Linked DNA regions of Homo sapiens: regions 2, 3 and 4 are each linked to region 1. The links are contacts of gene promoters, found by promoter capture Hi-C in blood cells and fetal thymus (Javierre and others, 2016). All regions are on one chromosome and are shown on one strand. Each heading gives the region's core, a stretch centred on a gene start or on the middle of the fragment in contact. The rest is flanking DNA. Distances are from core to core; before and after follow the strand shown.

The links. Contacts are between HindIII fragments. The CHiCAGO score rates a contact against its expected background, and 5 or more counts as called.
Region 2: a contact is called between a fragment that was not itself captured here and the fragment with the promoter of HCFC1-AS1 in region 1, in 1 of 17 cell types (naive CD4 T cells). The highest score is 5.1, in naive CD4 T cells.
Region 3: a fragment that was not itself captured here is called in contact with the fragment with the promoter of HCFC1-AS1 in region 1 in 5 of 17 cell types (non-activated CD4 T cells, activated CD4 T cells, naive CD4 T cells and 2 more); the score reaches 6.1 in non-activated CD4 T cells.
Region 4: a fragment that was not itself captured here is called in contact with the fragment with the promoter of HCFC1-AS1 in region 1 in 7 of 17 cell types (M2 macrophages, M1 macrophages, activated CD4 T cells and 4 more); the score reaches 10.2 in M2 macrophages.

What each region holds. Positions count from the first base shown.
Region 1 is chrX:153,966,851-153,970,397 of GRCh38, forward strand. It overlaps HCFC1-AS1 (HCFC1 antisense RNA 1), which reads left to right and starts at 1,915. Exons shown (of 3, transcript NR_046608.3): 1 at 1,915-2,220; 2 at 2,349-2,521; 3 at 2,935-3,241. The region is part of intron 1 of HCFC1 (host cell factor C1); the gene reads right to left. RefSeq lists enhancers at 1-148, 3,339-3,547 and a silencer at 2,374-2,552. The HindIII fragment of the contact is 6,911 bases long and covers 1,425-3,547 here.
Region 2 is chrX:154,129,905-154,133,451 of GRCh38, forward strand. No RefSeq gene overlaps it. Among named protein-coding and RNA genes, the nearest start is that of OPN1LW, 13 kb to the right of the region's middle. The HindIII fragment of the contact is 8,995 bases long and covers 1-3,547 here.
Region 3 is chrX:153,823,008-153,826,554 of GRCh38, forward strand. The region is part of intron 1 of PDZD4 (PDZ domain containing 4); the gene reads right to left. Among named protein-coding and RNA genes, the nearest start is that of PDZD4, 5.8 kb to the right of the region's middle. The HindIII fragment of the contact is 1,830 bases long and covers 984-2,813 here.
Region 4 is chrX:154,095,962-154,099,508 of GRCh38, forward strand. MECP2 (methyl-CpG binding protein 2) reads right to left here and starts at 1,756. Exons shown (of 3, transcript NM_001110792.2): 1 at 1,643-1,756. The coding sequence starts at 1,704. RefSeq lists an enhancer at 772-861 and silencers at 1,182-1,261, 1,322-1,381, 1,358-1,596, 1,682-2,041. The HindIII fragment of the contact is 4,609 bases long and covers 1-3,547 here.

The sequences.
Region 1 (3,547 bases), core at 665-3,164:
GGACAAAGCTAAATGGCACGTGGGGTCAGTGGGCAGCTTTCCTATCACACGCTGATCAGTGAGCCGGTGGGCCAGGCCAGAAGCGCCCTGTGATATCTTTGGGGATCCCGCTCACCAGATCCTTCTACAGGACCCAAGAGGTGCTGATCTCATTCTAGAACACTCCAGGCAGGGCAGGGGCCCTCCCCACCCCCGTCAAGAGAGGTCTGTCAGGGAGCACAGCTCCTGGTGTGACGACAAACCTGCGGCTCCTCATCTCACCCACGAGTCCTGGTTCCGCCCCCTGAAAGCACACGAGCAAGCTCTCCTCCCTTCTCCCAGCTTTTCAATGTGACAGCTGCTCTCAGTCACCCCTGAATCATCTGGGGGGTGTCATGTAACCCAATCCTTGGGCCCCTCATCCTGGAAATGCTGGCTCTCAGCTGGGAGGGGAAGGTGGGGAAAGGACCCTGCACTAGATGAAGACCACTCCAGCTCCCCTCTCCTGAGCAAGGCTGTGCCCCGGCCTCTCTGTGTTTCATCAGCTCCCCCAACCACTTCATGCTCTGCAAGCTCCATCCCTGGTTGCCACTGTCCCATCACCACCTAGAGACTGGTGCCCATGCAGTGAGGTGGCCGGTCAAGTTCAACGAGCTGCCTTCCTCTCTGTTCTACCTGTCACATTAGAGCATTTCCTGTGTGGCATACGACGTGCTGGGAGGCACAGAGGACACCGATCTTGTGCTCATACTCCCAATGGGGTAGGAAGGCTGCATGCCCCCCTCCCACGATGAGACAAACACCCTAGAAGAGCTCTGACCAAGCCGGGCCCTTGGGAGCACAGAGCAGTGCGACTGCTGGAGAGGGGAGGACAGGAGTGGAAAGGGCTTCTCAGAAGAGGTGACGTTTCAGCCGGGCCTTGAAGGGTGAACAGGATTTCCCGACAAATGAAACTAGCAGGGCCAATCAGGAAGTGACTGCAAGAGTCTAGTAAGAGGAGAGGAGGGCTTGGTGTGGAAGGGGACACATTTGATGCCTGCCCAACGCAATGAACAATTAGATACAGGGACAGAGGAGAGAATGGAGGCATTTCAAAGGTGATGGGCCCCAAAGACAGGTGGCAGAACGGCCTCTATGAAGGTTTGCACTCCCGCCCAACTCCGCCACCAGCTGGGAGGGCGACCCTGGACCTGTCACTTCCCCTCTTGGACCCCAATTTCCTCATCTGCAGAAACAAGGAAGTAGTTCCACTAGGTATTTTCCAAGGCTCCCTCCAGCTCCAAGAACCTATGGACATTACAGAGCCACCGTAGCCAAAGCTCTCGCTCCCCCACCCCCCACACCTGGCAGCACTCTGAATCCTTTGGCTTGCCACATGGAACTAAAATTCCCTAAGGACAAGCACAGTAGCTACCCTAAGAGCTCTCAAAGCACACACCCCCTGAAGCTTTCTTATCCTAGCAACGGGAACCCCTTCCAGATCAGCTCTCTCCAAAGGTACAAGGCTTTTTGAGGACTGATCCCGCAGAACTGCAAGGGGCACAGGCGTGAGAATATGCCCTGATCTCATCCCAAACACAACAAAAGAAGACAAGACAAAGGTGACGAGGCCGGGCTGGCGGGAGGGGGCAGAAACCCCGGTGAGGAAGAGGGCTTCAGGTCTGCCAGCTGCTCTCTCGTCTGAGGAATTGCCGATGACAGTTTCCAAACTGCTACCCTGGAGGATCCCAGAGCTTCATTTTAAGCAGCCCTTTGGAAGGCAGGCTACCCCTCTAATGCACAACCTGTCTTTGCAGACTGGTAATGAATTCATGCCAAAGTGGTCAATTCATTTTAATAAACTAATGAATATGCAGAGGCCCCAGGAAGCCAAGGCAGCAGTGGTGGTGGACTCTGGAGCCGACTGTAATTAGGCCCCTGCCCTACTTTCTAAAATTGCATTTCCCTGCCAGGGAGCCTGCTCCAGGCCTTATGAGAAGAAAGTCGGTCCACAGAGTGGAGAAGGTGCTGCTCATGGTGACGGTGCCTCTATAAACAGCCCCACCACTGGAGAAGCCTTAGCTTACTGAGCTAATTCCTGCTACTGCAGCTGCCTGGGCTGGCGCGGGGCACCACCAACCACCAAGCGCCCCCGCCCGGGGGCTGCTGAGAAAGGCCCTGCTCCCTGGAGGCAACAGGTGCTGAGAGACCTGGAACGAAAAACGGTCACAGACAACCCACCAGCCTTTCAAAGTCAACGTGGTAGGTGGCGATAATCTCCGAGATGTGGAGAAACCAGCACTTTCTGCCTTGGGGGGTGGGGAAGGAAGCGGCACCCAAGAGCCCAGCTCCAGCCTTCCCAACTCCCTAAACCAACTTTCTCCCTCCAGGCAGCTCCAGCTTCCCACCCCCAGAGCATCGAGGCACTGGAGCTCAGCCAAAGAACAGCAGCCTCTCACCGCTCAGGACACAAAGCCCACTCAGCGAGGGTTTGTCTGCAGGGCCACCACCGAGGCCAGGGGATCGCTAGAGCCCCCAGGAGAGAACGGCCGCGGAGCAAGGGGTTAGTGCTGGGAGCCGTGCCTGCCACTCAGGACTAGGGCATCCCAAGGCCCTCCCCCAGCCGCCTGCAGGGGGCTTTTCCCTCACCCAGACTCTTCCAGCTCTTGCCTGGGACCGAACTCACCCTGACCCTGCCTTCTGGGCAAGGCCAGGGTCCTGTGGGCCAACGGGCAGTCAGTAGGCAACTTGGGAACTGACCCTTGTGCTAGGGGCACAAAACGGGCCAAGTAGCCACCAAGAAAAAGGATGCCACAAAGCTGTCGTGGACAGCAGCAGGCTTTCTGCCCTAGAGACTAAGCAAGGCTACTAGGCAGAGGCAACAACAAACGGCCCCCACGAAGGCCGTGGTGCATCAGCCATACCTGAAGAGAGAGGTTCCTCCCCTTCCCAACTAACGGGCTTTGGGTTTTGCAGGGAGGCAGAAGAGCGGGTGGGGTAACCCCCTGGATCCGCAGAAGCGGGGAGACACACGACTACGCAGGCCGCTGAGGGGTAACTGGAATTCAGCTTGTAAACCAGAAGGCACCAGATTAGGAGAAGGGGCGACTTGGAAAGAAATGCTGCAGAAGTAAACGTGGAAAGGGAGAGGCGGCCCTGCCGCCGGCCCGTCCTAGGGGTCCCCAAGGCTCCGGCATTACCCGGGTCGGCGGATGTTAAACTCTGCGTCCTAAGAGCGCTTCCCTTCCCTCCCTTTTTCGAGAGACAGAGAACGAATCTGTAATCTAGAAATGGTCATTTCTCCAGAATGGGCACTCGAGATGAGGGAGAGCTGAGCAGGCGCAGGAGAAGGGAGGGAGGGAGGGAGGGGAGCTCTGCCTGCGCCAAGGGGACACATCCGCCCGCCCCAGCCCCAGCCCCAGCCCGCTGGGTAACGGTGTGGGTCTGAAGTCACCACCGCTGGCGACAGCCCCTCTCCCTCACCAGTCGGACTAGGGGCTTTCTTTTAACTAACGAAAACCAATCCTCAAACACGGGAGAGACAAGGGAACGGGGAGAAGATCAGAGAAAAGCACTGAAGCCCGGCACA
Region 2 (3,547 bases), core at 358-2,857, 160 kb after region 1:
ACCATAAATATGCATGATTACAATGTATCAAGAAAAAACAAATAAAGCCAAGAAAATAATCTAAAACTCCAGGTTTCCTCAATATTTCTTTATAAGAAAAATCCTTGAATAGATTAAATTGTTTTATTCTTCATTTAAGAAATAGCTGTATGTCTTTGTCTTCTCTCCAGTTTTATCACAGTACGAAGTATGTAAAAGTGACAATGGGAACACTGTGCTTTGGTTTTTGCAAGATTTGAGATGTATCCATTATGATTTTCTCATGAGAAATTTTATTATGTTGACCTTTCTAAACCCATAATACTTACCTTGCAGATCACGTACGTCAGCATTTCTTACACTAAATATCTAAGGTTTTGTAAATGTAAACACGAGTTGAGCTAAACTGAGTTATAATAATGAATATCTGTATTTTTAAAATCAACCTTTTAAACTTCCAACAATAGCAGTAATTGTGTAGCCCTACAAAGTTACTCCACCTTGTAAACGGAATAAATTGTAGTGTCATATTTGTCAAATTTTATTCATGAAGTGTGATCATATTGTGCTACTATCATTTCTTTTTTTCTTTTTTTTTCTTTTTTTTTTTTTTTGAGATGGAGTCTTGCTCTGTTGCCAGGCTGGAGTGCAGTGGCATGATCTTGGCCAACTGTAACCTCCGCCTCCTGGGTTCAAGCGATTCTCCTGCCTCAGCCTGTCGAGTAGGTGAGATTACAGGCGTGCGCCACCACACCCAGCTAATTTTTGTATTTTTAGTAGAGACAGGGTTTCACCATGTTGGCCAGGCTGGTCTTGAACTCCTGACCTCGTGATCCGCTCACCTGGCCTCCCAAAGTGCTGGGATTACAGGTGTGAGCCAACACGCCCAGGCAGCCTAGTATAATTTCTAAGATTCCCTCATCTACTGACTTTGATACCTGGGGTAGACAATAAATTGAGGTAATTAGCAAGTATATTTACCTGGATAATCTCCAAAGGAATGAAAATTCATAAAGACAAAATGCAAACACACACAGTTATTTCTGACATATATGTATTCTAGTCTATGCATAAACACAATGGTGCCACACAACACTCATAAATCAGAAAATCACTGTAGTCTAAACATTGTTTTGTGCTATGCCTGAATTTTTACTTATTTTTTTTTTAGAGACCGAGTCTCACTCTGTCACCCAGGCTGGAGTGCACTGGTGCAATCCTAGCTCACTGTGGCCTCAAACTCCTGAGCTCAAGTGATCCTCCCACCTCAGCCTCCCAAGTAGCTGGGATCACATGCGGGTGCCACTACACCCTGCTAATTTTTGCATTTTTACTTTTTGTAGAGATGGGGCCTTGCTGTGTTGCCCAGCCTACTCTCGAACACCTGGCCTCCAAGCAATCCTCCCATCTTGGCCTCCCAAAGTGCTGGGATTACAGGCATGAGCCCCCACGCCCAACCTATGCCTGATTTTTAAATTTTTACTATAAAACCTAAACTTTTAAAGCAGTAAATAATACCACTACCTGAACATCTGTGTGTGTGTGTGTGTGTGTGTGTGTGTGTGTGAGATGGAGTCTCACTCTGTTGCCCAGGCTGGAGTGCAGCGGCGTGATCTCGGCTCCCTGCAACCTCTGTCTCTCAGGTTCAAGCAGTTCTCCTGCCTCAGGCTCCCAAGTAGCTGGGATTACAGGCACACACCACCATGCCTGGCTAATTTCTGTATTTTTAGTAGAGATGGGGTTTCACCATGTTGACCAGGCTGGCCTCAAACTTCTGACCTCAGGTGATCTGTCTGCCTCAGCCTCCCAAAGTGCTGGGATTATAGGCATGAGCCACCATGCCTGGCCGTGAACATCTTTTACTGTGACTGCATATAAGTGTATGTTTACATAAACATACATAGAGGTGTATTACATCAATGAATGTTTTTTAAAGTTTCTGTATGATGGAGTGCAGAGGCCTGGGCGCAAGGGAGTAAAGGGTCTTTAAGTAATCAATATATTTTCAACCTCAAGTATCCTATCTAGAGCCAGAGGTTTTTTTTCTCACCCTACTAGGAGCTCACAGCACTGCAAATCTGTTAACAGAGGTGCTTTTATGCTGCCCCTTGGCATGGTTATTTCATAACTGCAGCCAATTATAAGAGAACAAGCAATCGAACAGAACAAAGAGCAAAGGCTCTTCCTTTGTGGAGGAGCTAAAATTCCCACTGCTTACCATGTTACCTTCTCCTGTGTGTTGTTATCAAATATTGGGACTCTGGTTACACTGTCAAGGCCATGGGCCTTTCTTGTTCTAGGGCAGCTGTGCTCCTCTCTTAAGCAACTGACCCGTGTCTCCTGGCAACTCTCTTTGGTACTGGACTTCTCCAAGATCAGTCCTCAAATTAATAACAACACTGACAAGGGTCTTCGGACCACCGTGTTTGGTACCTGGCTGCTTGGGACCATCCAGGTTTGCCCCTTTGCCTGGCTTGGGTAACCCACTGTATGGTGCACACGAATAAAGGCTGATGCCGAGAAGAATGAGGCTTGTAGTTACGAAAAGTGACTCAATGGAATTAAAAAATCTACCCTGCAGCCTGGGAGCAGTGGTTCACACCTGTAATCCCAGTGCTTTGGGAGGCCAAGGCAGGAGAGTCGCTTGAAGCTAGGAGTTGGAGACCAGCCTGGGCTATATAGCGAGACCCTGTCTCTACAGAAAAAATACAAAAATTAGCTGGGCATGGTGGTGTGTGGCTGTAGTCCCAGGTACCTCGAGAGGCTGAGGCAGGAGGATCGCTGGAGCCCAGGAGGTCGAGACTGCAGTGAGTTGTGATCGTGCCACTACTGCAGCCTGGGTCACAGAGCAAGATCCTGTCTCAAAACAAACAAACAAACAAACAAACAAACAAAAACTATCCTGTAAATGTATAAAAATGTCACTAATTTCAATGTGTTTCGGTAAAAAGGAATGAAGTACCGATACATGCTGAAATTCAGATAGATCCTCAAAAGCATTTTGCTCAGTGAAAGAAGCCACACATGAAAAGTCACATATCAGATGAGCCACTTTATGTGAAATATCCAGAATAGAGGAATTCATAGACACAGACAGCAGATTAGCGGGTGCCAGGGGCTGAGGGATTAGGGGATGGGGAGTGGCCACGTAATGGACACGGGGTTTCTGTACGGCATGATGAAATATTCTGAAAGTACATAGTGGTGATGGTGGCACAACGTGCATTAGTAAATGCACTAAATGTCACTACACTGTACACTTTCAGATGACTAATTTTATGTTATGTGATTTTCACTTTAATTAAAAACCACCATATTGGCCAGGCGTGGTGGCTCACAACTATAATCCCAGCACTTTGGGAGGCCAAGGCAGGAGTATCATTTGAGCCCAGGAGTTCGAGACCAGCCTGGCCAACATGGTGAAACCCCCATCTCTACAAAAAATACACAAAAAATTAGCCATGTATGGTGGCATACACCTGTAGTCCCAGCTACTTGGGAGGCTGAGGTGGATCGCTTGAGACCAGGAGGCAGAGGCTGCAGTGATTGGAGATCGTGCCACTGCACT
Region 3 (3,547 bases), core at 649-3,148, 140 kb before region 1:
CCCAGATGTAAGGCCTTCTCCATATAATTTCCTTTTTCATTATTTTTTATTTAATTAATTTATTTATTTGAGACAGGGTCTCGTTCTGTCACCTAGGCTGGAGTGCAGTGGCTTGATCTTGGCTCATGCAACCTCCACCTGCTGAGTTCAAGCAGTTCTCCTGCCTCAGCCTCCCGAGTAGCTGGGACTACAGGTGCATGATGCCCAGCTAATATATATATATATATTTTTTTTTGAGATGGAGTTTCGAGCCCAAGCTGGAGTGCAATGGCGTGATCTCAGCTCACCACAACCTCCACCTCCCGGGTTCAAGCAATTCTCCTGCCTCAGCCTCCCGCGTACCTGGGATTACAGGCATGTGTCACCATGCCCGGCTAATTTTGTATTTTTAGTAGAGATGGGGTTTCTCTATGTTGGTCAGGCTGGTCTCGAACTCCTGACCTGAGGTGATCCGCCCACCTCAGCCTCCCAAAGTGCTGGGATTACAGGCGTGAGCCACCACGCCTGGTCAATTTTTTGTATTTTTAGTATAGATGGGGTTTCACCATGCTGGCCAGGCTGGTCTCGAACTCCTGACCTCATGATCCACCCGCCTCGGCCTCCCAAAGTGCTGGGATTACAGGCGTGAGCCACCGCACCCAGCCAATTTCCACTTCTTAATGACCAACTGAATGGCCCGAGGGCAGCAACTCCCTCCTCCACCCAGTGAGATCCCGGGGGACACACCATCTGTTTTCCTTGTCACAATGGCCCTCGGACGCAAGCACTCTTCACTGCCATTTCACAGTTGAGGAAACTGAGTCACTGAGCCAGTGGGCCATGCAGCGACTTGCCCCTGGCCACACAGCTGTCAGTTGGTGGCTGCCTCCATTCCTATCTCCACACTGCACTGCCTTCTCTGGCAGGGCCCCTGAAGTAGAAGGAAGGAAAGGACACCTTTCTCCCCAGGATGCGTGCATGTGGCCATGGAGTTCCTGTTCTAAAGCTTTGGTGAGGTCTGTTGCTGGGTGGTAACCTGCACATCTTCAGTGTGCAAAGGGCAGGTGTTCATATGTCATACATGAACCTGGGGAACCATCACCACCGTCAGGACAGTGGCCATTTCTATCTTCCCCAAAAGTGTCCTCATGCCCCTCTGCCCATCCCTGCAACCACGAATCTGCTCTCTGGCACTATCGAATTTCATTTCAGCAGACTGGACAGTCCTCAGGAACCCCGAGATGAGAGGGGAAAGGGCATTCTACAATCTTGGGACAATGACACAAAACAGGATGACCTGGTCCAGAAGATGGCAGTCAGAATTCAGTGTCCAGCCCTCTGTTCTTCCACTCCACAAGGACTTTCTCAGAGCCTGCTTCTTCCCCAGTCAGCTTCTGCGGCAGAACCACTGAGTTGACTGAGAGTCCAGCTTTCCCCTGGAAGGGTGGAGGCCAGCGTGGATGTGCTGGCAGCATCTGGTGCTGGTGAGGCGGGGAGGCAGAGTGCCCATGCCAGACCCAAATCCCTGCTCACAGGAAGCCCCCATGCAAGCAGGAGGGAGCCAGAGAAGCCACCTGGCTTGGTGGGTGGGAGAGCAGTTTGGAGGAAGACGTCGCTGAAGAGGGGACACTGGCTGCCAGCCACGCTCCCGCACTCAAGCAGTACTTTCTCTCCCCCGCAGTTGCCTACATGTTGGCGATGGTCTCCCCCTTACAAAAAGGGGAGCCTGGGGCCAGGCGTGGTGGCTCACTCCTGTAATCCCAGCACTTTGGGAGGCCGGTGTGGGTGGATCACCTGAGGTCGGGAGTTCAAGACCAGCCTGACCAACATGGAGAAACCCCATCTCTACTAAAAATACAAAATTAGCCAGGCATGGTGGCGCATGCCTGTAATCCCAGCTACTCGGGAGGCTGAGGCAGGAGAATCGCTTGAACCCTGGAGGCGGAGGTTTTGGTGAGCCCAGATCGTACCATTGCACTCCAGCCTGGGCAACAAGAGCGAAACTCTGTCTCAAACAACAACAACAACAACAACAAAAGGGGAGTCTGGGGGAGGGGCAAGGCCCTGTCTGCAGTGTCTCCCTGCTGAATGCCACGCACCCAGGATGGCTGCCAGCACCATGGGGGCTCACATGCAGGTGCTTTAGGCAAGAATGCCTGGGAGATCACCAGAAGGGCTGGCCAGCTGTCCTTTGGCCTCCCTCGATGTGGACAGAGGGGAGATGACAGGCGGTCCTGACCCACTCCCCCTGTAAAGCCTGAGTAGGATGGGCGGGAGACCAGTCCTAAGTACCAGGGGTTTATCCCCTGACCATCTCCGGCGTGCTCGGATGCTAGCAAGCACATCATGGTGTCAGAGAGGGGGTGCCAAGGCCAAGACAAGTTCAGCAGAGTGTGGACCACGATGAGATATATGACAAGGGGGCCTGGTGGCAGTGGAGGGACATGGGCTGCAGAAAAGGCTCCGGAGCTGGGGACATGCTGTTTCCTGCCTTCCATTCTGGGCAACCAGCCTGCTTCCTTTTCCTAACTCAACACGCAGTAATCCTCCATTTTCAGGGGAGGTCCCAGATTTTCCAAACTAGGAGGACATGATTGGAATATAGGAATGGGGCTGAGGTTCCGACATGACACACGAAAGTGCCTGTGACAACCCACATCCGTGGAATAAAGGAACCATGTGGTCATCTCACTAGCCACAGAAGCAGCACTGCACAATCCAATGCCTCTCATGATAAAAACACACTAGGAATAGAATGGGAACTTCCTTACCCTGATAAAGGACAGCTATGAAAAAGCCACAGCTAACTTTATACCCCCTAGTGAAAGACTGGAAGCTTCTTTACCTTTAAGATGAGGAACAAGGGAAAGACATTCACAGGCACTTCTATTCAACATTGTACTAGAGACTCCAGCCAGAGCAAATTAACAAGAAAAAGAAATCGAAGGGCCAGGAACGGTGGTTTACACCGGTAATCCCAGCACTTTGGGAGGCCGAGGCGGGCAGGATTGCTTGAGGCCAGGAGTTCAAGACTAGCCTGGCCAACATGGCAAAAGCTCGTCTCTGCTAAAAATACAAAAATTAGCTGGGTGTGGTAGTGTGTGCCTGTAATCCTAGCTACATGGGAAGCTGAGGCAGGAGAATCACTTGAACCCGGGAGGCGGAGGCTGCAGTGAGCCGAGATTGCACCACTGCACTCCAGTCTGGGTGACAAAGTGAGACTGTGTCTCAAAAAAAAAAAAAAAAAGAAAGAAAGAAAAGAAAAGAAATCAAAGCCATCCAGATTGGAAAGGAAGAAGAAAAACGATTTCTATTTGCCAATGACATGATCCTAATATGTAGATAATCCTGAGGAATCTACTAAACAAATTATACTTAATAAACAATTTTAGTAAGGTCGCAAGATATAGGATCAATGTATAAAAATCAATTTTTTTTTTGAGACAGAGTCCTGCCCTGTCACCCAGGCTGGAGTGCAGCGGTGCAATCTCAGCTCACTGCAACCTCTGCCTCTGGGGTTCATGCGATTCTCTTGCCTCAGTCTCCTGAGTAGCTGGGATTACAGGCA
Region 4 (3,547 bases), core at 326-2,825, 130 kb after region 1:
AACATTCCAGCCATGGAACCCAAAATTCTCTAGAGTAATAATTACCTATTAGTGCAATGTTACTACTGAGGCCGTATATGCTTCATTTTTACAGTATAACAAAATGTCTAAAACTTATGAGAGTCCTACAACGTCTAGGCCACTCAGTATCACATCCAAGTAGGTATGGTTCCTGGATCACCAACCAACCCCTGAATTCGATCCTGTTATCTCACAGTCTGGGGTACTGATCCCGCACAGCAGAGACACAACGTGTGAAAGGCTCGGCAGAGCCCATTCCTGTTCCTGGAAAAATAACCAGAAGCACACATCTGCCTGACCATGAGTCAGGAATATCAATTTTGTGGTGGAGCCCATTTCTGCTGTGACCAACCCACACCCGAACACACTCGCAACAGAAGCAACCGCCACAGAGCAATTCCAGAATGAGCTTTTTCCCCCTCGGGGTCCATACTTAGCAATGTCATAAACGGTCTCCCCTGCGACAGCAATCCTTTTACACTCTTCATAATGACCTTAAGTCTTTAGTGCAAAACCACAGAAACATTGCCACTGCCATATAAAAGTCATCTGAGTTTCAGTTTGGGTGATTCGGTCATGACCAAACTGAACAGAGGATAACCTTTCAGGCACAATTAACAGGAGCCACAGCGTCGCGATGAACTTGCCCCATCTGGTACCGGTGATCCCGAGCGCTCCAGGGCGATGAGAGCCCGTTACCTACTATGTCCCACTCCACTTATGTAACTGGAAGATCGCCGGCGAAGGGGAGGGTAGGATGGGAGGGTGCTCACATTCCGAGGCCACAGCACTCCAAAGAACCTCTGAGCACCCTGGGGACACGCTCGCACCTTAGAGCCTCTGGCGCCGAAGAGCCTCGGGTGCTGCTGGACGCACAGTCCCCTACCCACGGCTCCTGATGGGAACTATAACCACCTCTTTATGATGAGTTGTGGGACCCAGAACACAATGTCTAGTCCCTTTTGTGGATAATAATCCCCACCTACTTGTTCCTGCTAGATGGGGAAAGGAGCCGGTGGACCTACTCGCTCGCGGGGGGGTAGCGGGGGGCAGAAATTCATGGAATGGGCGAGAAGGAGGGGGAGGCAAAGCCCAGAGATGGGGGTGAGAGCTCAGGAGCCCTTGTGGCGCACTCTCCCGACGGGAGGCGAAGTGCGCACGCGCGCCGGTGGGGGGGCCGAGTAACGGGAGAGGGGGCGCGCGAGGGAGGGAGGGGGAGAGCGCGATCCAGGGAGAGGCCGGGGCCGCGGGCGCGCGACGGCGCCGCGGCCCAAAGCCCCGAGAAGGGCAGGAGCGCGCGCAGCCCCGACAGGCGAAGCCCCGGCGACAGGGGCGCCCGCGGGGCCGGGGGCCGGGATGCGCGTCGAGGGCGGGAGGAAGAGGGGCGTCAGGCGAAGGCGGCTCCAGGGAGGCCGCGCCGAGGACGGTCACCCGCGAGCAGGGGTGACGGGCCGAGGGGAGAGTCGCCACCGGCGGCGGCGGGAGGGGGAGGGTAGAGAGGAGGGACGCCATCCGCCAGCCGTGTCGTCCGACCCCGCGGGCCCCTCCCGCGCCACGTCCCGCCCCTGACCCCCGCCCCCCGGCAAGGGTCCCCGCCCGCGGCCACGGCGGTCCCACTCACAGTCTCTCCTCCTCGCCTCCTCCTCCTCCTCCGCTCGGCGCGGCGGCGGCGGCGGCGGCCATTTTCCGGACGGCTTTTACCACAGCCCTCTCTCCGAGAGGAGGGAGCGCGCGCGCCGCCGACGCCGGGACCCCGCACGGCCGACGTCGCGCCCCGCCCTCTTGGCCGGCCCGCGCGCTGCTGCACCTGCGCGCCCGCGCCCCGCCCTCGGCGCCGCTGCGAGCCCGCCCGTCATTGGCTGTGATGGCCGGGCTGGGACGGGGAGGACGGGGGAGGGGGGAGTCTCAGCGGCGATGCCGTCAATTGGCGAGATTTCCTGTCCATTTCGGCCAGGGAAAAGGGGGCGGACCCCTCCAGCTGTTGATTGGCTGCTTTCGGCCGTCGTTTGGGGAAAAGAGGCGGCTTGGGCGCGGAGGGACTGGTTTAGTGGGCGGAATTTGAATGTTAAGGATTAATGGACCCTTGCGGATGCTGGGGCAAGTGAAGGCCTAGGCTTGGGACGCCTGTTTGCGCTGCTCTGAGGGGCGATTGACCCTCTGTCCACAGATGCACCGAGTGCGCTGCAATAAGCGTTTCATTGCACCCACATTTTCTCAATATCACTATCTTCGGCAGAAGCAGCAAAGTTGCCCACCCTGGAGCCTGACGTTGCCCCAGCTGAGGGGCCTTGGTTTCAGAGGCCTACTCAATGCATTATTTCATCCGAGCCTGCCCAGTGCTCACACTCTCATAGAGGCGGGGAATAAACTGACAACAAATCGCAACCCTGGCTTTCGCAGAACTCTGGCGGGGGAAGAGAGTGCATGCCAAGGCCTCGTGACACCTGTCACTGTTGGATCAGATGGTTTGGTGGAGGTGTGAATAAGGGGCAATGTTAGCTCTGCCTGGAAGATATGATTTGGGAGCTGAGATCCAGCAATTTTTCACTTTCCTAGAAGAGTTGATTTGGAGCTGAGATCCAGCAATTGTGTTTTGGGAAAATAAGAGTATGAGAAAACTGTTAGCTAACCAGGTGTTCAGGACAGGAGTGTTTGTTAAGGGGACCTTACCCTGATGCCAGTCATTATCCAATCCATTCAATGATCCTTCTGTTAGTTCTATGCTTAGCAAGAAAACCTGATTCTGATTTGGCTGCTTGCCCCCATTCATTTATTGACTACCTGCTATGTGCCAGGCACTCTTCCAGGCTCTGGATGCACGGTACTGAACAGACAGCAAACTAACATTCTTGCCGGGAAGATTCATACTAGCATACAAATAAGTATAATATATCATTTCACATAGTGATAAGGGCTTTGAGAAAGATAAACTAAGTGAAGGGGGTGCTATTTAGATATCTGCTGGTTTTCACCCTCATTTTACTCCCTCATATGAATATCTGGGGAAAGAACATTCCAGGCAAGTTCAAAGGACATGAGGAGAGACTATGCCTGGCATGTTGGGGACTAACGAGGAAGTCAGTGTTGCTGGAGAGTGGTAGGGAATGTGATTGGAAAGGCAGCTGGGGCCACTATGAGAACTGGGAGTTCATTCTTTTTTGGGGGGGGTGGGGATGGGGTCTCATTCTGTCACCCAGGCTGCAGTGCAGTGGCGCAATCTTGGCTCACTGCAACGTCCACCCTGAGCTCAAGCGATCCTCCCTCCTCAGCGTCCTAAGTAGCTGGGACCACAGATGCGAACCACCACGCCTGGCTAAGTTTTTGTATTTTTGATAGAGATGGGAGTTCACCATGTTGCCCAGGCTGGTCTCAAACTCCTGAGTTCAAGTGATCCGCCCGCCTCGGACTCCCAAAGTGCTGGGACTACAGGCGTAAGCCACCGCACCCGGCCAGAACCGAGAGTTTATTCTAAGATGAGAAGCCCTCAGAGGATTTTGAGCCAGGAGCTGTCTGATCTATGTTGCAG